Regions from separate parts of the Homo sapiens genome. Here all the other regions are linked to region 3. The links are contacts of gene promoters, found by promoter capture Hi-C in blood cells and fetal thymus (Javierre and others, 2016). All regions are on one chromosome and are shown on one strand. Each heading gives the region's core, a stretch centred on a gene start or on the middle of the fragment in contact. The rest is flanking DNA. Distances are from core to core; before and after follow the strand shown. Region 1 has its middle 28 kb from the start of LINC00612. Region 2 overlaps LINC00612 (long intergenic non-protein coding RNA 612). Region 3 holds the start of MFAP5 (microfibril associated protein 5).

Region 1 (3,648 bases), core at 804-3,303, 370 kb before region 3:
CAGAGTCTCACTTTGTTGCCCAGGCTGGAGTGCAGCCCACGATCTCTGCTCACTGCAGCCTCCACCTCCTGGGTGGAGAATCAAGCGATTTTCCTGTCTCAGCCTCCCGAGTAGCTGGGATTACACGTGCCTGCCACCACGCCCGGCTAATTTTTGTTTTCCTCTACATACAGCTCTCACAAACCAGCAGTGGGGGAGTGATGCAGCCCTCCAGCCTCAAAGATGGGGAATTCAAAGAAGAGGGAAAAGTCTTGCTCTGGTACTATTGTTCTCTGGCCATGATTTTGTGTGGAAGTTACCTGGGATGGTTTTTTCATGTGTCAACTTTGCTAGGCAATAGTCCCCTGTTACTCAATCCAACACTAATCTAGATATTTATTGAAGGTATTTTGTAGATTTCGTTAAAGTCCGTAACCAGTTGATTTTAAGTAAGGGAAAGTATCCTAGATAATCTAGGTGAAATTGATTCAATATCAGTTGAAAGGTCTTAAGAGTGGAATTAAGGCTTCCCTGATAAACATGAATTTCTACCTATAGACAGCAGCTTCAGCAGCTTTGGCTTCTGCTAGAGAGTCCCAGCCTGCCCTTCCTGGCAGCCTGCCTTATGGATTTTGGAATTGCCTAGCCATGAGCCAATTCCTTGCAGGGTCTTGCTCAGTTGCCCAGGCTGGAGTGCTGTGGCACAATCACAGCTTATTGCCATCTTGAACTCCTGAGCTCAAGCGAGTCTCCAGCCTCAGCCTCCTGAATAGGTAGGACTATAGGCAAGCACCACCACACCCAGCCAATTTTTTATTTTTTGTAAGGATTGGGGGTTCCCACTGTGCTGCCCAGGCTGGTCTCAAACTCCTGGCCTCAAGCAATCCTCCTGTCTTGGCCTCCCAAAGCACTGGGATTACAAGCATGAGCCACTGCAGTACATCTTTTAACACAGGTATCACTGAATTACAGGGATATGTTCTGATAAACGTAACCCTAAGCAACTTTGTTTTTGTGCAAAGGTCATAGATTGTATTTACACAAACCTAGATGGAAGAGCCTACCACACACCTGGCCTATATGGTGTAGCCAATTGCTCCTAGGCTACAAACCTGGACTGCATGTTACTGTAGGCAATTATAACAAAATGGCACATATTTGTGTATCTAAATGTATCTAAACATAGAAAAGGTACCATCAAAAAACAGTATAAAACATTAAAAATGGTACACCTCGATAGGGCTCTTACCACGAATGGGGTTTGCAGGACTGGAAGTTGCTCTGGGTGAGTCAGTGAGTGGTGAGTGAATGTGAAAGCCTAGGACATTATTGTACATTACTGTAGACTTTATACACACTGTATACTCAAGCTATAGTAAATTCATTTTAAAAAATTTTTTTCATAAAGTTTATTTCATGATTGGTGGGTAGTGCATTTAACAGTTAAATATACTTAAATAATGTGTAGGTGACTGCACGGTTGCAGCATATTGGTAACTAGATACATAACCAATTCAACTAGAAACCAGCTAACGAGTAGCTGTTTAAATATTTAAAATATAGCTCTTGTTTAGAGCCTTTGTTTTGATCACCTTCTTTGTGGGAAGAGCCTGCTGATCACAATGAAAGTATATTAAAGCCAAATCTTCTGATATCCATTGCCATTTCTTTCAGCTGGATTAAGTCTCCAACTCCAGGACAAACCCAAGTCTTTGGCCTCCTCCATTAATGCACTTTTTATCTAGCAGAGCAGAAAGTGCAAGCTTCACAGCAGGCTCAGAGTCTGAGTGTAAATGAAGTCTCTTTCCTTCCACTCCAATTAAACTAGAGTTGTTGACTTTTGCAAACATAGAAGCAGTGAAATGCAACTGATATTTAGTGGCAAGACAAAATGAGTGCAGTTGGCACTTGATGTCCGAGCAAGGTTTACTGAAGTATCAAGATTGTCACATACCCTCTGATAAACTGAGCCTCCAAATTCTGCCCCATTATTGTTATTAGTGTGAAGCTCGAAGTCCCCCATCCGGTAGCCCACTACAGTTATTCCTTGTCAGCTTTGACTTGGCACTGTCAGTGGTCATCTGGTACCCAGCAAGCCAGCCCTCGTAACCAAAGACAGCTGAAGCATAGATTGCAGGTCCAGCAAAATCAAAATTAACATCACAAGCAAGGTTTATGCAGTCCCTCTTGCAAGAGGACTTGATTTTACCACTTTTGTTTCCTGTGATTGCTAAGAAGGTAGTATCAAATATTAGTTTCAAACCTTGACAAAGGTGGTCCAATTGTGATTTCTGTTCCCAGAGTATTAACAGTGTCTCATTTTTCTGGGAAAGTCACACCATACTCACACCGTTTATATTTGGTCTCCAAGACTTCAAAAGCTTTTCCAGTGTCTGCATTAAATGAACCAGATGTTGAAAATCCCACAGCACTGCGTGACTTTGTTCTCACATCCAGTTTTACCAACCCCAAACCAAATCCTTTGTTAAAAATATCTCTGGCAGCTTTGCCAAGGTTAACATATGATGAAGAAATCCACACTGGCCACATGCAGGTCTGCCCATAGGTCGCCATGGTAAGGCCACAGTAAGAGGTGATATGGTGATCTCCTAAGGAGGGCCACGGCCACCACTCCACTCTCAGCTGAGGCTGGTCAGCCGCCTCACAGTCAGGCCACAGCTGCCGTGAAGTGAAATCTCTTTCTTCAATAATAAATTAACCTTAGCTTCTTCTAATTTTTTTACTTAATAAACTTTTTCCTTTTTGTGTTAACTTTTATTTTAGGTTCAGTGGGTACATGTGCAGGTTTGTTACATGGGTAAATTGCATGTCACTGGGTTGGGTGTACAAATGATTTCGTTACCCAGGTATGAGCACAGTACCCAATAGACAGTTTTTCCATCCTCACTCTCTCCCAATCTCCACTCTCAAGTAGCCCTCAGTGTCTTTTGTTCCACTCTGCCTCCCTGCATACTAAATGTTTACCTCCTACTTATAAGTGAGAACATGTGGTATTTGGTTGTCTGTTCCTACATTGGTTCACTTAGGATAATGGCCTCCAGCTCCATCCATGTTGCTGCAAAGAATATGATTTTATTTTTTATGGCTGTGTAGTATTTCATGGTGTAGATGTACCACATTTTCTTTATCCAGTCCACTGTTGATGGGCATCTAGGTTGATTCCATGTCTCTGCCATTGTGAATAGTGCTGCAAGGAACATGCACGTGCATGTGCCTTTTTGGTAGAACAATTTATATTCCTTTGGGTATATACTCAGTGATGAGATTGCTGAGTTGAATGGTAGTTCTGTCTTTTTTTTTTTTTTTTACTTTAAGTTCTGGAGTACACGTGCAGAACGTGCAGTTTTGTTACATAGGTATACATGTGCCATGGTTGTTTGCTGCACCCATCAACCCGTCACCTGCATTAGGTATTTCTCCTAATGCTATCCCTCCCCCTAGCTCCCTACCCCCTGACAGGCCCTGGTGTGTGATGTTCCCCTCCCTGTGTCCATGTGTTCTCATTGTTCGACTCCCACTTATGAGTGAGAACATGTGGTGTTTGGTTTTCTGTTATTGTGATGGTTTGCTGAGAATGATGGTTTCCAGCTTCATCCATGTCCCTGCAAAGGACATGAACTCATCCTTTTTTATGGCTGTATAGTATTC
Region 2 (4,003 bases), core at 243-2,742, 390 kb before region 3:
CAGTCCTTCTAGGGGATCTCATCACCAGGCAAGCACGTGGTACGAGAAGAGCAGTCATTAGGAAGGCCATTTGGAAAAGCACATCCTCTCTGTTCACGTGAGATATTTTACATCCTCATTCCTCATCGCAAGCTTCCTGGGATTTGGAGTGTCACAGACAAGAGGGTTGGGGGAGGCCAGTAGGTATGGATTTGTTTATATTAAAATGAGCATATGAATATTTATATGTTTATATTAAAACATATATGTTTGTTTATATTACAATGAGCATATGAATATTTATATGTTTATATTAAAACATATATGTTTGTTTATATTAAAATGAGCATATGAATATTTCTGTATACTTCAGATAAACATTCTTTTCCATAAATAAGCTTCATCATCCAGAAGCCATGTTGAAAGTTGGTAATCAAGGATAGGAAGTGTTTCCAAGGGTTGTCAGTGATTAAATCAACCTTACCTTAGCATACATGTATGAGAGAAGTTAGATAAATTATACATAGAGAGATAGCTAGATAGATAATAGATAAATAAGGTAGATGACAGATTAGATACAGATGATAAACAGATATGCTATCAGTCTAGATCTATTACTCACAGTCAGTCGTATCACAGTGTAATTCCATCAACTTCATTTGCAGCAAAAGAACAGCCCCTGATGTACGCCTGTTTCCTGAATATTTGGAAATATTAATATTAATATAGATAGAGTCAGCTTGCCAGTATAAAGAATCTATCTCTCACTATAGGCAGAGCCATGTGTTGGATATTATGGAGGAATATGTATTATTTTAATCGTTTAAAAGACTAATAAACTTCTAATCTACTTTTGGGAGCCTCTGCTCAAGTTCCTGAGGTTCCTACTCTAAAATCCACATCACCCTCCAACTGCTCCCTATGTGAGCCATTAGGGAGCACAATGAATTAGAGAATGAATCCTATTAGCCCACTAAAAAATTATCTTTCAAAGGATGAAGACTGATGCTAAGGAAAAAGAGATGAGGCCTCCCTGGTTCCGCATTATTACTCCTTCCTTTCTTGGGTTACGGATTGAACACTGACCTTTTCTTTCACTCTTCTGCAAGACAACCCCATAAGAAAGCTGAAACCTGCTTTTGTGAAAGCCTATGATTACTATAAGACAGGTGAGCAAAACAGAATCCTAGATAAACTCAGTTCTTTCCAGTGTGGTGTCTTTGATGGAAAAATAAAATAAAAGCCAATGTGTTTGGGGTTTTTTTCTTTTTTACTTTATATAGATTTAGGGGGTACAAGTATGGTTTTGTTACATGGCTACATTGCACAGTGGTGAAGTCTGGGCTTTGAGTGTAGCCATCACCCAATTAGAGTACATTGTACCCATTAAGTGATTTCCCATCCCTCTTGCCCTGTCACCCTCCCACCCTTCTGAGTCTCCAGTATCTGTTATCCCACTCTCTATGTCCATGTGTACAAATTATTTAGCTCCCACTTATAAGTGAGAATGTGAAGTATTTGACCTCCTGTTTCTGAGTTATTTCACTTGAGATAGTAGCAACAAGGGTGGAAGTGGAGGCCAAACCTCAATTCTTAAAGCAATAAAAGTGTGGTAAACCCTTGTACATCTTGTTTTCAGTTTAATCTGTCTCCATAACTTATTTTTTCTTCCTTGGCCTACAAAACTACTGCCAAAACTACCTGTAATATACATGTATATTGATATGTAAGCCTATCAGTCGTGCAAAATAATCCAAAGTACCAAGAGTTTTACGTAGAAGTGCTTATAAATAAAGGCATACATAAATCTTAAAAAGATAATATAGCAATGCAAAGAAATAAAGAAGAGCCTAAGAACTATACAAATAATTATAGTAGGAACTAAGAGAGGGGTGAGAACTATAGCGTTGAGTGGTCTTTAAACAGCAAATGAAGAGGCTGGGCACAGTGGCTTATGCCTATAATCCCAGCAGTTTGGGAGGCCATGGCAGAATGATCTCTTAAAGCTAGAAGTTTGAGACCAGCCTGGGCAACTAAGTGAGAGCCCATCTCTACAAAAAATTGAAAAATAAAATCAGCCAGCATGCTGGTACACACCTGTAGTAGTCCCAGCTACTCAGGAGGCTGAGGCAGGACGATCATTGGAACCCAGGAGTTTGAGGCTGCAGTGAGTGAAAGAGTGAGACCCCATCCCTAAAATACACACACACACACACACACACACCCCCCAAGTAAAATTTCAGCTGGAATATAAATCGTGGGTATTATACTGATTTATGGAGAGAATTATGCTAAGTCTTTCAGATGAGGAAAACATATAAGAAATATCATGCAAGAAAAAAGAAGCAAATATGGAACAAGAACTGAAAGAACACATACCCGCGTGATCCCCCCTAGTACTTTGCTTGAACACTGTAGCATGAGCAGGCTTTGATTTTCCACCAGAGTAACGGATTATACTAATGGTATCAAGAGTGGAAATTCCTTGACCATGTCTATATATTTCCCCAGTGAGCTGACATTTTTGTGATCACGCAGGCCCTGATTCAGTATGGTTTGCAGTCCTTAAATAGGTCAAAGCCTCTCCACATAGCCCTGTCCCGTTGAAGCTCCCATTCTCAAGCTTTTCTCCCATTGTGTGTTTCAGATGAAGCAAATTTGCTGAATACAGTGTCCCCTGCAGCCGATAGGCAGTTTGCTCTACATATCCCAAGCCTTCATTTTGCTCTCAAAAGCAGTCCTCCTAAATACAAAATCATCTACATCTTTTATTAGTTGATATCAGATTTATCATACTGCAAGGTAACGCAGAACTATACAGCTTTGGAGAGGAACACTAACTTCCTGGAAGGTTTCCTGATTTTCTTATCAGAAGAGTGTAAATGAAATTACCCTGTGATTAGGGTAGATATCTGATGGATTCCATTCTCAGCCATAACCAGTTTGGTCTCCTTTAGCAAAGCCCTGCTGCTGTCCATATCCAATTAGAATTAAATTCACTCCTTGGCAAGCCCGAAGTCATCCTGTTCGCTTTCCTCTTCTCTCCACAGGCACAGAGCAAGAAAATGTTTGAGGCTTGTGTCTATAAACAAGACTTGGCTGGAATCCCCAGACCCACGACTTTTTAAAAGGATATTTTGTCCCTGCAATACAGATACTGAATGAGGTTGGCAAATAAATATGTATTTCTAGAGACTCTATAATTGATTCCTTCTTCATTTAATGCAAATTTACTCCATGCGCACTTACTGCTTTTCATTGTACCCTGTATTTGCAATAAACAAATAATGGCATCCAAATTGAGGTAAGAGCACCTAGCATAAATTTAGGAACAATTCACAACAGCCTCACTACTGCAGAACCTCAGAATATGCAAAGCAATGTAATGGCAATCTGGGAAAGTTTCACTCCAAGAAAAAACTTCTAAACTGAAGATTAGTGACAAGAGTGTAGAGTATATCTGAGTGGAAACATTTTTTGCAAAAGCAGAAGAAATGGTTTATTTTAGCACCAGGTAAAATGACTGGCCTGTCTAGATAGAAGCTCCGTATTGCAGAAAGGTGAAAATTTATCAATCAATCAATTAATTAATAAGTTATGTTTAGGTGGGAGTCATAATATTACGACAATTTCATGGAATTAGAAATGCTTAACTTCTGGTCCAAAATCTGCCACTGACCATTTGTATGACTTTGGGTTGAAAAACATCTGGATATCAGTTTTATGTGTGTGACAGAATCACGTGTTATTGGAGAAGTATAAATAAGTACAGGTGGCGTATCCCTTATCCAAAATACTTGGGACCAGAAGTGTTTTGAATTTTGAATTTTTTAGATTTGAAATATTTGAAGTATGCTTACCAGTTGAGTATCCCTAATCCAAAAACTGGAAACCCAGAATGTTCCAGTGAGTATTTCCTCCTAGCATCACTTCAGCACTTGAAAAGTTTCAGATTTTGGAACACTTTGGATGTCAGATTTTTGGATTAGAGATGCTCAACCTGTATAGTAGATCCTCTCTTAAC
Region 3 (3,810 bases), core at 1,075-3,574:
TGCCTGTAATCCCAGTTACTAGGGCAGGAAAATCACTTGAACCCAGAAGACGAAGGTTTCAGTGAGCCAAGTTCACGCCACTACACTCCAGCTTGGGCAACAGAGCGAGACTCTATCTCACAAAAAAAAAAAAAAAAAAAAAAAGAAACTAACCAACCTTGAAACAAACTGCATTCTCAAAAGTCTTTAAAACCCAACAATATATGGTTGTCCTGCTCTTCTGCCAGTTCCTGTCTCACTACCTCTCCTTTCCTTCTAGGATGCTACTCCCTGCCTGTTCTCTTCTTCAGCCCTGCTCTGAACATTCTGTTCCTATTTTCACTGCCCCAACTCCAGACTACCTCCTACAACCCCAGGAGAACGCCCCCTCCCACTGCCTGGGGAGGCTCTCCTAAACTATAGCCTCTAGCCAGGCCAGCACATTGAGGTCATTGCTCTCCCTGCCAAATGACTGGCCTGAGTTCAGTGTCTCCATCTGTCTGAGCTTCATGGAAAACTTGATTGTTGCTCTAGGCTCTCTATTCTATGTCCTGCCTTAGCTATGTCCTGCTTTGCATCTGCTTTTTTGTTTCTTCTCCCAACACCCTTTTCTTCCCCTGACTCTCCTCAGACTAGAATCACATCTGTTTTCTAGTCTCAGCCCCTTCACTGGGGAGCAGATGGAAGAAGAGCAAGTTCTGGGGCAGGAAGATCAGGAAGAGCTGGGCGTAGCACTCAGCTTGTTCTGCGGACTGACCAGATTCCATGTATCTTAGAGATGTAGCACTTACAGCTCCCTCGGAGGTCCCAGAGGTGCTTACAAAGTGCGATTTGCTTATTTCTGTGTCCACTGCTCTTTTTTCCTCTCAACTAGACTCCTTCCTTCCTTCTTTCCTTCTTTCCTTCCTTCCATCATACCCCCTTTTATTTTCTTCTAGTATGTAATTTATTAATACTATCTGCTCTCTGTCTACCTGTACTCTTCTCTAATTTATTTCATCAGGGAGATATATAATGTAGACTAAAGGGGAGCCAACAGGAAACCTGAAACTTACATATTTCTATGGCATACAAGGTCCACCATTCCTCAGACTTGAGTTTCTGTAATTCAAGTTTGCTCTTGAATCCAAAGCGGGAATGTTTTAGTGGTTGAACCACTAGAGTCTCTGTGAATAAGAAGAAATACAAAGCCTTTAAAATTCCTGAATCAAGGCTGAGCAACATAGCAAAATCCTGTCTCTACAAAAAAATACATCTAAATTCGCCTGGCATAGTGGCATGCACCTGTAGTCCCAGCGACTTAGGAGGCTGAGGCAGGAGGATCACTTGAGCCCAGGTCAAGCCTGCAGTGAACTGTGATCATGCCACTGTACTCCAGCCTGGGTGACAGAGCAAGACCCTATCTTAAAAAAAAGAAAAAATCCTGGATCAGAGAAAGTGTTATCTACACATTATATGATCTAAGGAAAAATATTGGTAGAAAATGAGGCAAGCATAATAACCTTGCCTTTCAATTTTCTTTGGGCATCTGATTGCATTTTATCCTTAAGAGCCCAGAAACCCAGATTCTTAGTTAAGCTCAAACAAAGCCAAAAGACAAAGTAAGGCTGGCACCCCTTTCACAGAGCTTCTCTACATTTGAAAATGATTTGGAGAGTTCTGAAAAGTTCCTCAACTTTTTATAACCCTAAGGTAGCCAGCCTTCCTCTTGGACAAAACTCATAAGGTATCTGTGTTCGCTTGGTTGTGAGAATACATAGGATATTCCAAGGGGAAAAAAAACAAGAAGAGTCTAAATGTGTAGGTCAAGAAAGAGGCAGAGATGAAAAAGAAATACAGGAATAAAAAGAAATTTGTTAGTGCTGAAGAGACGAATATTGAAAAAGAAAGTGAGAAAGAAGGATGAAGGAATGATTCAAATATGGAATATAAGGAGGCTGAGGCAGGATAATTGCTTGAACTCAGGAGGCGGAGGTTGCAGTGAGCCAAGATCACATCATTGCACTCCAGCCTGGGTGACAGGAGCAAAACTCTGTCTTAAAAAAAAAAAACAAAAAACAAAGAAGAAGAAGATAGCCAGAGAGAGAGAAACAGCATCTATAATGTGCATTAAAACACACCAAGGAGGAGACGGAACTTTTCGGTAAGAAAGAACCCAAGGAACAAAGGGGAGCTGGGACCAGATCGTGAGAGGAGGGAAAATAGGCTAATGGAAGAAAGGCAATACATGAGCTGGGGCCAACACTTCCAGGGAGCAGCAAGAGCTCTCACCAGTGTAGTCATAACATTTGGAATGAGGGTGTGAGCAACTGCAAATTCCCATCTCCCTTCTCATTCCAGCCTCATTGTAACACACATTCTACGCCTAGCCTGGCTTTCTTGCTCTCCCTCATCTCATTGTTTCAGCGGAGGCCAAATCTGAAGTCCTTTCCAGGGAGTGGCTCTGTTCATCTTATTCGCCAGCCAAAGTAGGAACAGCGTAAGAGGAGAGAGACACATTCAGCAGCCAAAGGACTCGGTGGAAAGAGCAGAACACCATAGACAGTGAGTTATTTGATTACCTGAAACCCTAAAGAGACAGAGGGAATGTGTGTATGTCTGTGTGTGTGTGAAAGGGCTGGAGGGGGCAATGGGGAATGTCACTGAACTTAGTCTTGAGCAGACCTCCCAAATAACCGTGGAATTCTGATGAAGGAGACGCCAAGATGAGCAGATGATATGAAAAAGTCACGCATATGAGAAAGGAAGATTCCACATCAGGGGTGAAAGAGGCCAAAGGGTAGGGCCAAGTACGGACCATGTAGAATGTAAAATTTCCTCTGACTTGGTAGCAGAGAATAATAAAAGCAAGAATAATGGTAAGTGACCAAGGAATAGATTTGAGGGAGAAATGAATGTTGGGTGAAAGGTAAGAAAAGAGAGAAAGGGTTTGAGTCATAAGGGAAAATGAAGAAAGTTCTGGGAAGACAAAGAGACAGGGACCTCAGAGGCATCTTTCCCTGGCACTGAAATGCTGATGTGCCTCTGAGCATCACATTCTCTGCTATGCCCACCACCCCTATAGATATGTCGCTCTTGGGACCCAAGGTGCTGCTGTTTCTTGCTGCATTCATCATCACCTCTGGTGAGTCCTTTATTCTTTGCTCCCTAAACCCTCAGCTCCTCAGCTATACACGTGTGTGGCAGGAGATGGGATGGAATGAGGTCGAAGAGGAATAGCAGTAGAGATGCTTGGTATTGAGCTCTGGAATTCCTATTAGAAGAACAGATTTTGTGTTAAGAAAAAAAGTTCAGGAATGTGACTAGACTTCAGACTAGGGGAAAGGCCTCCCAAGAATTATGAAACTAAGGTGCAACTAAGATACACACAAATGCATATTAACCACCCAAAGAGGGTCACATATGAGTAAACAAATTGCAAAGCAAAAAAGAAGCTGATATACAAATGCATACACAAACATAGAGGAGGGACTACCTAGAAAGAAACTGGACCTGGGCTGGGCATGGTGGGCTCACACCTATACTCCTAGCACTTTGGGAGACTGAGTGGAGAGGATCACTGAGACCAACCTGGGCAACATAGTGAGATGAGTTAACCTCATCTCCATTAAAAAAAAAAAGGAAAAAAGAAAAAAAGAAACTGGACCAAATGTAAATCTTGAAGAAGAACAGTGGGAATACATACACTATTACCATCATGCATGCAGGTATACTCACATGCATGCAAAAAATATATGCCATACTGACACACAAGAGAAAAGTGATCTTCACAGATTTCCCAGAATCTGGCTAGAAGACTGGCCACAGAAAGTGAACTTTAGGCTGTAAAGA

Evidence for each region. Contacts are between HindIII fragments. The CHiCAGO score rates a contact against its expected background, and 5 or more counts as called.
Region 1: a fragment that was not itself captured here is called in contact with the fragment with the promoter of MFAP5 in region 3 in 7 of 17 cell types (M2 macrophages, M0 macrophages, erythroblasts and 4 more); the score reaches 13.5 in M2 macrophages.
Region 2: a fragment that was not itself captured here is called in contact with the fragment with the promoter of MFAP5 in region 3 in 4 of 17 cell types (naive CD8 T cells, M2 macrophages, erythroblasts and 1 more); the score reaches 11.9 in naive CD8 T cells.

Annotation. Positions count from the first base shown.
Region 1 is chr12:9,035,252-9,038,899 of GRCh38, reverse strand. It overlaps a transcript of KLRG1 not described here and the pseudogene VDAC2P2. Among named protein-coding and RNA genes, the nearest start is that of LINC00612, 28 kb to the left of the region's middle. The HindIII fragment of the contact is 618 bases long and covers 1,745-2,362 here.
Region 2 is chr12:9,054,765-9,058,767 of GRCh38, reverse strand. LINC00612 (long intergenic non-protein coding RNA 612) reads left to right here. Exons shown (of 3, transcript NR_034140.1): 2 at 1-1,148; 3 at 3,030-3,179. It also overlaps a transcript of KLRG1 not described here. Among named protein-coding and RNA genes, the nearest start is that of LINC00612, 8.3 kb to the left of the region's middle. The HindIII fragment of the contact is 2,225 bases long and covers 380-2,604 here.
Region 3 is chr12:8,661,340-8,665,149 of GRCh38, reverse strand. It overlaps MFAP5 (microfibril associated protein 5), which reads left to right and starts at 2,324. Exons shown (of 10, transcript NM_003480.4): 1 at 2,324-2,523; 2 at 3,044-3,103. The coding sequence starts at 3,046. The HindIII fragment of the contact is 12,173 bases long and covers 1-3,810 here.